Regions from separate parts of the Homo sapiens genome. Here region 2 is linked to region 1. Evidence: promoter capture Hi-C in human tissues and cell types (Jung and others, 2019). All regions are on one chromosome and are shown on one strand. Each heading gives the region's core, a stretch centred on a gene start or on the middle of the fragment in contact. The rest is flanking DNA. Distances are from core to core; before and after follow the strand shown.

The links. Contacts are between HindIII fragments. The study calls those that stand out against the background at their distance.
Region 2: a fragment that was not itself captured here is called in contact with the fragment with the promoter of TNFRSF1B in region 1 in 5 of the 25 tissues and cell types used here (H1 embryonic stem cells, heart right ventricle, mesendoderm cells and 2 more).

Annotation. Positions count from the first base shown.
Region 1 is chr1:12,164,075-12,169,750 of GRCh38, forward strand. TNFRSF1B (TNF receptor superfamily member 1B) reads left to right here and starts at 2,917. Exons shown (of 10, transcript NM_001066.3): 1 at 2,917-3,095. The coding sequence starts at 3,018. It overlaps MIR7846 (microRNA 7846), which reads left to right and starts at 2,869; the gene lies at 2,869-2,964. RefSeq lists silencers at 2,753-3,062, 3,073-3,302 and an enhancer at 3,343-3,984. The HindIII fragment of the contact is 11,494 bases long and covers 149-5,676 here.
Region 2 is chr1:12,274,420-12,279,861 of GRCh38, forward strand. VPS13D (vacuolar protein sorting 13 homolog D) reads left to right here. Exons shown (of 70, transcript NM_015378.4): 19 at 1,406-3,619; 20 at 5,080-5,231. Among named protein-coding and RNA genes, the nearest start is that of VPS13D, 47 kb to the left of the region's middle. The HindIII fragment of the contact is 4,428 bases long and covers 770-5,197 here.

The DNA.
Region 1 (5,676 bases), core at 1,667-4,166:
CAGAGCCTCATCGGGAGGCCCAGAGCATCATGGGTGGGAGATAGAGCCAGGGCTGGGCTGTGGGGCAGAAGGAGAGAGTCCAGGCCCTCCACACTGCCTCTGCTGTCCCTGAGTTTTACCATATTCCCCAGTGGCAGGTACAATATGGTGAGTGTCAAGATCAATCCCCCCCCCACCCACACTGAAGAAAAAGTCCCGGACCACGTGTGCAGGTCATGTGGAGAGACAAACTGGTTCAGCCAGAACTGGCCATCGCCACCTCCAGCCTAAATAAGATGTGGGGTTGGAGAAGCCAAGAGAGAGGATTTTGGGGAAGGAGTCACCATTGGGCTGAGTGCCCCCTGCTGCCCTTTGGAGCGGAGAGGGCACTTCCTCTTACCTTGGGCCAAGCAGGAGGGGATACGAGGGAGCCATCTGGGGGCTTCATATCCCAGGAGTTTAAGGACCATAACACAGGTGGAAGATTCTTGTCTATTTTGTCCACTGCTGAGTCCCCAGCACTCCAGGGCTGGCACACAGTAGGTGCTTAATAAAGGAGCCTGTGGCTGGATGGACCTGAGCCAGCATTGCTGGAGTGAGCCAGGGTGCACGGAGAGTTAGCTGGGCTGCTATTGGTGCGCAGCAAAGGGCAGGCAACCATGGACCCCAGCGAGGAGGCCAGCCTGACCATCTCCATCCCAAAGTGCTTCCTAGTAGGTAAGGCGGCCTCAGCAGGAGAAGCCAGGAGGACACCATCCTGTAGGAGCTGAAGGGGAGGTGGTGAATTGTGGCCAGCAGGAGGTGCAGGCATTTCAGGTGCTGGGGAGCTGTGGCCAGTGGAGTCAGTAAGAAGGTCTCCAAGAAACCTGCACTAGAGCCCCAGAGAGAATGAGCTGGAAACTGTCCCCAAAGTCCCCAGTGCCAGATGGGTGACAACTTTGGCTGCCATGGAACACTGTGCCCTTTCCTTCCCAAACCCTCACCCCTGGGCCTGACCCTGGAGTCAAGAACTGCACTTGGCAGAGTTCAGAGAGAAGTCGCCTGCTCTCAAGCCTGGGTCGGCCTGGAGAAGGGGAGAAGCCCCATGTTGCATAGAGATTAAGCTTGAATTCGTTCCCAGGATGGGACCTAAGCCTGGGAGGATCCCCACCTTCAGGAGGTGATGGTGCCATTCACTGGGATAGGGAAACTGGCAGGAGGAGCCGGTTGTTGAGGGTTGGGGGTGCAGACAGTCTGTTGGTCCCATTGGTCTTGAGGTGTGTGGGGGACAACTAGAGAGAACTATTGTCCCCTGCTTCCACGAGGTGACATCTCCCTCCTGCCTTCAGCTCTATTTTAGGGATCAAGGAGTCCTTGGAGCTGCTCCTAGGCATTCTCATAAGGGCCAGAAGAGCTCTGCATGTCTGTCCAGCGGCTCTGCAGAGTTAAGGCTGTGGGTCATACCAGCCACACCCTCAGCGTGGTCCATGTCACAGAAACATGTGGAAACCAGGTGATTTCCCAGCCTCCTGGTCAGGAGGTGGGGTTTTCCATCCCCAGGGAGTCACTTCCCAGTTTCTCACTCAGCACTCAGCACCTAGAAGCACCATCCTTGCAGGCTCCACTGTGGGGCTGGTGGCCGGGAGCAAGGGTCTCTGTACCTCTTCAGGCAGCCTGCAGTGAGGAAACAGGGAACAGAATAGCCTCCTGCCACCCAGCCCACCCCAACCCTTAGAAATGCCCTATGTGCTGGGGGCTAGGACCCCCGTAATCCAGGGCTGGAGGAATGTGCTCTGGCCCCGCAGGGCTGGCCCTGTATTAGGGCTGGCACTCAAAGTGGGGATGGGGGGACAGATTGCAGCTGGAATGGGTGCTCGGTCATGATGTAAATCCTGGGGAAGCCAGCTCTCCTGGGCCTGGTCTCAGCAGCCCCTCAGGGCCCTGCAGCTTCCCTGGTGACATTCTCTCCCAGCCTCTGTTCATCTGCCCCCTGCCTGGGCAGGAGACTTGAGCAGGGAAGTGCAGAGTCTTCTCCCTGTGAGAAGGCTGGATGCGTGTTTAAGGATAAATGAACACGCGAAGAGTAGTAACAACAGCCAAGATTTATAAATGCCTATTGTTATATATGTAGATACTTACTTAAGTATATATAAAGTACAGACTGCATTATGTATATTACATATCTTTAAATTTTTAGAATAGTCCTATGAGGTCAGTTCAGAGATCCAGACCCAGGTGGTCTGGCTCTAGAGTCTAAACAGGCCGAGTGCAGTGGCTCACACCTATAATCCCAGCACCTTGGGAGGCCAGAGGCGGGAAGATCACTTGAGGGTGGGAAGAACACGTGAGCTCAGGAGTTCGAGACCAGCCTGGACAACATGGCGAAACCCCATCTCTATAAAGAAATCAGCCTAGCATGGTGGCCCGAGCCTGTAGTCCCAGCTACTCGGGAGGCTGAGGTGGGAGGATCGCTTGAGCGCAGGAGTTGGAGGCTGCAGTGAGCTATGGGTGAAAGAGTGAGACCTTGTCTCAAAAAAAATTAAAAAATAAGAATTAAATATATTTAAAATAGAGTCTAAATAAGTGAATGATCTAGAATTCTCTTGGTTCCCCTAAAGCAGCTGTCAGCTTTGGGGGATGTTTTTCCAAATTAGTGCCTCACCCTCACGGGACAGGGAAGCCTGTGGGAGCTGGGAGGGCAGGTGGAGGCCGGGCAGGTGGAGGCCGGGCAGGTGGAGATGGTGATTCGAAGAGGAGGGGACGATAGGAGGAGGTTGAGGGGTCACCCGAGTGCTGGGAGTGACGCTGGAGGTATCGGCCCAGCGATGCTGGAGTGGTCGGGTCGGAGGCCCAGCAGCGTCTGGGGAGGGGCGTGGGGGAGGCGTGTCCAAGGCCGGCTGGCCCCGCCCCGCCCCGCCGCCTGGCCTCTGGCCCGCTGGGGCGCGGGCTTTCGCTTTCAGTCGAGGGCTAGCGAGCGCAGCGGAGCCTGGAGAGAAGGCGCTGGGCTGCGAGGGCGCGAGGGCGCGAGGGCAGGGGGCAACCGGACCCCGCCCGCACCCATGGCGCCCGTCGCCGTCTGGGCCGCGCTGGCCGTCGGACTGGAGCTCTGGGCTGCGGCGCACGCCTTGCCCGCCCAGGTGGGTGACTCGCGCGGCCCACGGGGGACAGCCGCCCCGCATGTCCACCCGGCTGGTGCGCAGCCTTCGGGTGCCCGGGCCGCGCTCTCCCGGGGCGCTGTCACGGGCTGGGAGGCTGGGAGTCCCAGTCGCCGCCCCCCATCCGCATCAGACACGCGCGCCTCTGGGGACCCGCTGGGGACTCCGGGCCCGGCACACGTGCGCTCGGGGCACAACTCTGGCCCCCGAAGCCCCTCTTACCCGCGTCGTGACAGGGGCGCACCCTGGTTCCTCCGCGAGCGCAGGCCGGGGCATTTGGGGCTGAGCAGCGGGTCCTGGGCAGACCCCCGCTAGACCCGGGACCCCTCTTCCCTCACCCCGGCGACTGCCGCGACAGCCCTTCCCTCCCACGCGGTGGAGAAGGGGCTGTGCCGGGGCGCTGCCCCACTGCCCACGCCGGGCACCCTCTTCAAAAGACTTCCTTTTCCTCTGGGCGACGGTTTTCCGATTTCTTAGAAATACCAGGGTCCTGTGTCTGAAGAGCAGGACCAGGTGTGTGTCAGGTCCACTGAGGGCACAGCTGGAGGGCGAGCTGCCTGTCTGCTTCCTCCGATGCGTCCGGGGGCTACTGCAGAGTCTGTTTTCTGCGGCCTCTGGGGACAGGGCAAGCGAGGGAGGTCTGGGCTGGTAATCGAGCAAGGCAAATGAAGTCTCCGGGGGCCGCAGGAAAATGGAGACAGCAGAAACCCTAGGGCTCCTATTCAATATGAACGTCACTCCCACAGTAGCAACGGGCGTACAAGGGACTGTGCACCCTTTGCCTGTTTTTGACTGTCTCCTGGTCTGGTAACATAGGATAACCCCATTTTTGTTTTACTGTCTCCATGGTTTGGTAAGATAAGATAAACCATTTTTTAGAGAAGGAAAACTGAGGCTCAGAGAACTTGTATTTCATGGAAGGGTCTGGGGGGAACTCTTCCTCCAAAGGGGGCCTCTCCTGCCTTCGGCCCCTGTGCCCTGAGGCTGCGGGGAAGGTGGGCGTTCATCCTTCCTCAGAGCCGCCCCTGATGGACACATGGCCCATCTGCCCCCATCTGACATCTTGACCGAGGAGGAAGGTGGGAGGTGGCACTGGCTTCTGTGGTGACATAAGGTGACTTGTTGATCTGAGGCCAGAGAGTCCAGTTCTTGTGGGTGGAAGATGGGGGCTGTCAGACTAGAATTGACTCACCGACAGTGGGTGTCAGGAGTGGGTCCTGGAGAACTGCCCCAGAGTAAGTCCTGGGTGGCCTTTGGGTCAGGAGAGTCCCCACTCTAGGGCCGAGTGTGAATGGGGACGACCGTGGTCCCCAGCTTGACTTTGGGGTCATGCCATATACTCTGGCCTCAGAGGGGGTCTTCCTGCCGCTGAGCTTGGGCCTGCCTGGGTGAACTCTGGGGTCATGTGAGCCCCTGGATGGGAGAGGGGTGTCAGGCACAGGGCTCAGCAGGACACCAGGCTGCAGTCCTGGAGTAGCTGGAGGAGGTTCCCTCCCACTTCCTTCCCTTCCTGACCAGCTCCTGCGGCAGCTCATATTCCCTCCTCCCTCATCCCTGCTCCCCACGACCCCACCCGGACTATTGCCGCAGCCTTGTAGCTGGTCTCCCGGCCCTGCCCCCTCTCCCGCTGATCCTTGGCAGAGAGACCCTTCTCAAGCATGAGGCACCTCTCTGTTTGCCTGGGGAGCCTCCTGTGGCTCCCAATGGTTGAGGCAGAAACTCCCCTGGAGATCCCAGGCCAGAGTAAGGTACCTGAACTCTTCCTCGCGCCTCCCTGCACATGTGCTCCCCCGCCTCTGTAGAACTGATGATGGTCATCGTGTGTGTCATTGTGCAAAAAGCATTGTCCGTGCCATCCCCTCTCCAAGGGACACTTCTTACCCCTATCCTTCAAGGCCTTCTGCAAATGCCATTCTCTCCAGGAAAGCCTTTCCGCATTCTCAGTTGGATTTGATCTTCTCTTCGAACTCCCAGGCCCTTTTGTTCCCTTTGAGGACAGATTGCATTCTGCTTTTTAATCTAGCTGTGTTTTATCCCCCTCAGTGGATGGAAGGTGTCTTCAGGGCCAGAACTGTGGGTTCCTCTTCCTTCTCATCAGTAGCATCGCCATAGCTCCTGATTTCTGAACACCCACTAAACACCAGGCACTGGGCTAGGTACTTTGTCACAAAATTTCACTGAAACCTCCCTTACAGCAACTCCCAAGAGGTGGGTGGTGCCGTTTGTCTTTAGAGATGTGGAAACTGAGGCGTTTCCCAGGATCACAGAGCTGGGGGCCGGGGAGCTGGGGGTGGGATTTGAATGCAGGTCTGCCTGATTCCCAAGCTCCTTTCACTGCACCCTCCCCGTGCCCGTATCTGCACTCATGCTCCCAGCCAGGCCCTCACACACAGTGGGTTCTCAGGATGGAAGTCAACTGAGCTGCAGAAGAAGCCCCCAGGAGACCTGAGCTAGCCATGGACGCAGCCGACTCACTGCCAGCAGGGCTTTTGCCCCGTTTAAAAGTCTTATTTGCCAGCTGGTATGGAAAACATCATTCATTCATTTAGCCATTTATTCATTT
Region 2 (5,442 bases), core at 1,734-4,233, 110 kb after region 1:
ACCTGTCTTGGCGACCCAAAGTGCTGGGATTACAGGTGTGAGCCACCACGCCCGGCCAATTTTTGTATTTTTAGTAGAGATGGGGTTTCGCCATGTTGGCCAGGCAGGTCTCGAACTCCTAACCTCAAGCAATCTGCCTGTCTTAGTCTCCCAAAGTGCTGGGATTGCAGGTGTGAGCCACGATGCCCAGCCCCAGTGGTGTATTTTTATAGTTGTCTTGGCGCACTGCTCAGCTGGAGAAAGAGGAGCTGATTGTGGACTCTGGGGCCACACAATTGCATATTGATCAGTTACCGCTCACCAAGCACTACCTCGGCACTAGGAAGACTGTGTTGACCAAGAAAGATGAGACCTCTCTTCTCTCAGAACATTCCAGTGGATGCTGGGCCGTGGTGGCTCATGCCTGTAATACCCAGCACTTTGGGAGGCTGAGGTGGGTGGATTACATGAGGTCAGGAGTTCGAGGCCAGCCTGGCCAACATGGTGAAACCCTGTCTCTATTAAAATACAAAAAATTGGCCAGGTGCGGTGGCTCACGCCTGTAATCCCAGCACTTAGGGAGGCTGAGGTGGGTGGATCACCTGAGGTCAGGAGTTCGAGACCAGTCTGGCCAACATGGTGAAACCCTGTGTCTACTAAAAGTACAAAAATTAGCCAGTCATGGTAGCAGGCACATGTAATCCCAGCTGTCCGGGAGGCTGAGGCAGGAGAATCTCTTGAACCTGGGAGGTGGAGGTTGTAGTGAGCCAAGATCATGCCACTGCACTCCAGCCTGGGTGACAGAATGAGACTCCATCTCAAAAATAAATAAAAATAAATAAATAAAAATGTAAAAAATACAAAAAATTAGCCGGGCATGGTGGTACATGCCTGTAATCCCAGCTGCTTGGGAGGCCGAGACAGTAGAATCGCTTAAACCTGAGAGGCAGAGGTTGCAGTGAACTGAGATCGTGCCATTGCACTCCAGCCTGGGTGACAGAGTGAGACTTCACCTGAAATAAAAGAACATTCCAGTGGGGGAAACAAATGAACACACAGAAAAAGGAAAAGAAATAAAAGACTCTAGAGAGGGACGTAAGAAAGGGTTGGTGAAAGCAGCTCACGCCCATGGCAAGGCAGGGGAGAAGTGGGGAGGCAGCATTGGGTCAGCAGGTGGCGCTCATGTCAGGGGGCCTCCAGCTTTTTTCGTGTCCATACTTTTTTATATTTGTGTTTTGATTTCCAAATTTATAGGTAAATTCACACTTAGAAAATGGTAAACAAAGATATTATGCTTAAGAGTTTTCCTCAGTTTTCTTAAACAAACTGGGGTTGGTTGATTCTCTACCTTTCATAATTATTACATTAAGGGAAAGAGGAGGGAAATAGCAGACATATATTTGAATCTTCTTTTTTTTATCTTCAGATAACTCCAGGAGGAAAAGTAGGGATGGGTCAGCATCTGAAGAGACCCAGTTTAGTGATGATGAATATAAGACCCCCCTGGCCACACCTCCTAACACCCCACCTCCCGAGTCAAGCAGCAGCAACGGAGAGAAAACACCTCCCTTTTCTGGAGTTGAGTTCAGTGAAGAACAGCTTCAAGCACATTTAATGAGCACAAAGATGTATGAGAGGTACTCGCTGTCATTTATGGACCTCCAGATCATGGTTGGACGAGTGAAAGACAATTGGAAGCATGTCCAGGATATTGACGTGGGACCAACACATGTGGTAGAGAAGTTCAACGTTCACCTACAGTTAGAGCGTCGATTGATTTATACTTCAGATCCCAAATATCCAGGAGCCGTGCTCTCAGGCAACTTACCAGACTTAAAAATCCACATTAATGAAGATAAAATATCTGCACTAAAGAATTGCTTTGCTCTCCTCACCACCCCAGAAATGAAAACTTCTGACACTCAGATTAAAGAAAAGATTTTTCCCCAGGAGGAGCAGCGGGGAAGTTTGCAAGACTCCGTAATGAATTTAACCCAGAGCATTGTGTTGTTGGAGCAGCATACCCGCGAGGTTCTGGTGGAGTCGCAGCTCCTCCTGGCGGAATTTAAAGTGAACTGTATGCAGCTTGGTGTTGAGAGCAATGGCCGGTACATTTCTGTGCTCAAGGTGTTTGGTACCAATGCTCACTTTGTGAAGAGGCCTTATGATGCTGAAGTCTCCCTAACTGTTCATGGTTTGCTCCTGGTGGATACCATGCAGACATATGGTGCTGATTTTGACCTTTTGATGGCTTCACATAAGAACTTGAGCTTTGATATTCCAACGGGAAGCCTTCGGGATAGCAGGGCCCAGTCTCCTGTCTCTGGACCGAATGTGGCCCACTTAACTGATGGAGCTACACTGAACGACCGATCAGCTACTAGTGTTTCACTTGACAAAATTCTTACCAAAGAGCAAGAGTCCCTTATTAAGTTGGAATATCAGTTTGTGAGTTCAGAGTGCCCATCGATGAATTTAGACAGTACTCTTCAGGTGATTTCCCTACAGGTGAATAATTTAGATATTATCCTCAATCCAGAGACGATTGTGGAGCTAATTGGTTTTCTTCAAAAATCCTTTCCCAAGGAAAAAGATGATTTAAGTCCTCAACCTTTAATGACTGATTTTGAAAGAAGCTTCAGAGAACAAGGAACTTACCAGTCTACATATGAACAAAACACTGAGGTTGCAGTGGAAATCCATAGGCTGAACTTACTGCTTCTTCGGACAGTGGGCATGGCAAATAGAGAGAAATATGGCAGAAAAATTGCAACTGCAAGTATAGGTGGCACCAAAGTTAATGTCTCAATGGGTAGCACGTTTGACATGAATGGTTCTCTTGGCTGTTTACAGCTTATGGATTTGACACAAGATAACGTTAAAAACCAGTATGTTGTCAGCATTGGGAATTCTGTAGGCTATGAAAATATCATCAGTGATATTGGCTACTTTGAATCTGTGTTTGTCAGAATGGAAGATGCAGCCCTCACTGAAGCTTTGAGTTTCACGTTTGTTGAGAGATCTAAACAGGAGTGTTTTCTCAACCTGAAGATGGCTTCTTTACATTATAACCACTCTGCTAAGTTTTTGAAGGAGTTGACGTTATCCATGGATGAACTGGAAGAAAATTTTCGAGGTATGCTGAAAAGCGCAGCCACCAAAGTCACCACAGTACTAGCTACCAAGACTGCCGAGTATAGCGAGATGGTATCGCTCTTTGAAACTCCAAGGAAGACTCGGGAACCCTTTATCTTAGAGGAAAATGAAATATATGGGTTTGACCTAGCTTCGTCTCATTTGGACACTGTAAAGCTAATCTTGAACATAAACATTGAATCACCAGTTGTTTCTATCCCTCGGAAGCCGGGGAGTCCTGAGTTGTTGGTGGGACACTTGGGACAGATATTCATCCAGAATTTTGTGGCGGGAGATGATGAATCCAGAAGTGACCGTCTGCAGGTGGAAATCAAGGACATTAAACTGTATTCTTTGAATTGCACCCAGTTGGCAGGTAGAGAAGCTGTTGGGTCTGAAGGAAGCCGGATGTTTTGCCCACCTTCCGGGTCTGGCAGTGCCAACAGTCAGGAGGAAGCTCATTTCACACGACATGATTTCTTTGAATCTTTGCATAGAGGTCAAGGTGAGGAGCATCAGTCTTTTGTTCTATTTTGTTTAATGATTGAAAACCCAGCTCACGGAGTCCTTTGCGTAAAACAGCAACAATAAAATCCTTTTCTTTTAGAATAATCCTCAGTTAATATTTAAGAAATCAAAGAGTTTTAATAGAATGCCTTGTAGTAGGTTGGCATGTTTTCACCCTTTTCCATTTAATGTCATATTTGACAAAACAGGAATTTACTTACTTTTATTTTTATTTTTTTGGTTTTTTGAGACGGAGTTTTGCTCTTGTTGCCCAGGCTGGAGTGCAATGATGCAGTCTCAGCTCACTGCAACCTCTACCTCCCAGGTTCAAGTGATTCTCCTGGCTCAGCCTCCCAAGTAGCTGGGATTACTTACAGGCACCCGCTACCACGCCCGGCTAATTTTTGTATTTTTAGTAGAGACAGGGTTTCACCATGTTGGCCAGGCTGGTCTCGAACTCGTGACCTCAGGTGATCTGCCTGCCTCGGCCTCCCAAAGTGTTGGGATTACAAGTGTGACCAGCCGCGCCCAGGCAGGAATTTATTTTTTTGAAGTGTTCCAGCTTGAAACTGTATGAGTGCTCATTTACAGAGATGCTTCAGTGGATGGATGTTGTTAAAGTATTGTTTAATTTGGTCAAATATATCTGATTTTCTGTTCCCAAGCTGTCGATCCTTCCTAGTTAAACATTTTAGCCCAAGATGCCTCAAGGGGTTGATGTAAATAGTTTGTGGATATTATCTTCTTTAATATTCTGCCATCTTCTTCTATAATGGGTTGGTCCAAGGTTCTAAGAATAAAAGCTTATGTTTGTATTCTGGATCTGATCAGCTAAAACCAAACAGTCCAATCTGTTGGTCTTGGCACGCAGAGATCAGGTAAGTCCTAGAGCACGCCTTTATTTATTGGTGATGAAATTAATGCCTTTGAGAACTTACCCTTCTGTGGTCATCAGATGTTAATTCACTGATTTGTTTTTATACTTATCAAAAGATAGCTTTCTCTGCTTGGATAAAAGTTGTTTACTTAGAACTTGTATTGTCCTAGATTCTGATTTAGGCCTAATAAGAGGGATACATCTGTATCTGAAAGCTAGGTAAGGATGAATAATTCGGTTTGGAAAATGCCAGCTTGGGTGGCTCAGAGAAGCATAATGTAGTCTCTGGACTGGAATAATGTTCACCACATCGTGCTTTGAAGCTACCAAGTGGAGCATGTGATGAAAATATTGTTTCTTTTTTTGTGTAAATGTATCTTGTACCTCAGCTTGCTATGAGTTTTGGCCTCAGGATAGCTGTCAAGGTTTGCTCTCAATCATAGACCCCGGGTGCCAGGCTAACCTGCCCTCCTGGTCTAAGTGTAACTCATGGGCTGTATTTTGTATATTCTACGTTTAATCAGCAGTAATGAAGTAAATATTAAGGTTTATGGTCTATCATTTCATCTCTTTTATGCCAGCTTTTCACATCCTGAACAACACCACCATTCAGTTTAAACTGGAGAAGATCCCTATAGAGAGAGAATCTGAATTGACTTTTTCTCTTAGCCCAGATGACCTGGGAACTTCTAGCATCATGAAGATTGAAGGAAAATTTGTCAATCCAGTTCAGGTAAATTCATGTCAGGGCAGTTGAAGTCATATGTTTATATTAGTACTCTATAAATATGATATATATTTATGTATATTACATGTTGGAAGGAATATATATTTTCAAAGATATATCACCCATGCATAATACCATTGTTGAAACCTTGTTCCAATAATTGTGGAATCCTTTTGTCATGGGGAATCCGTCTTGTCAGCCTTTTTCATATGGAGGA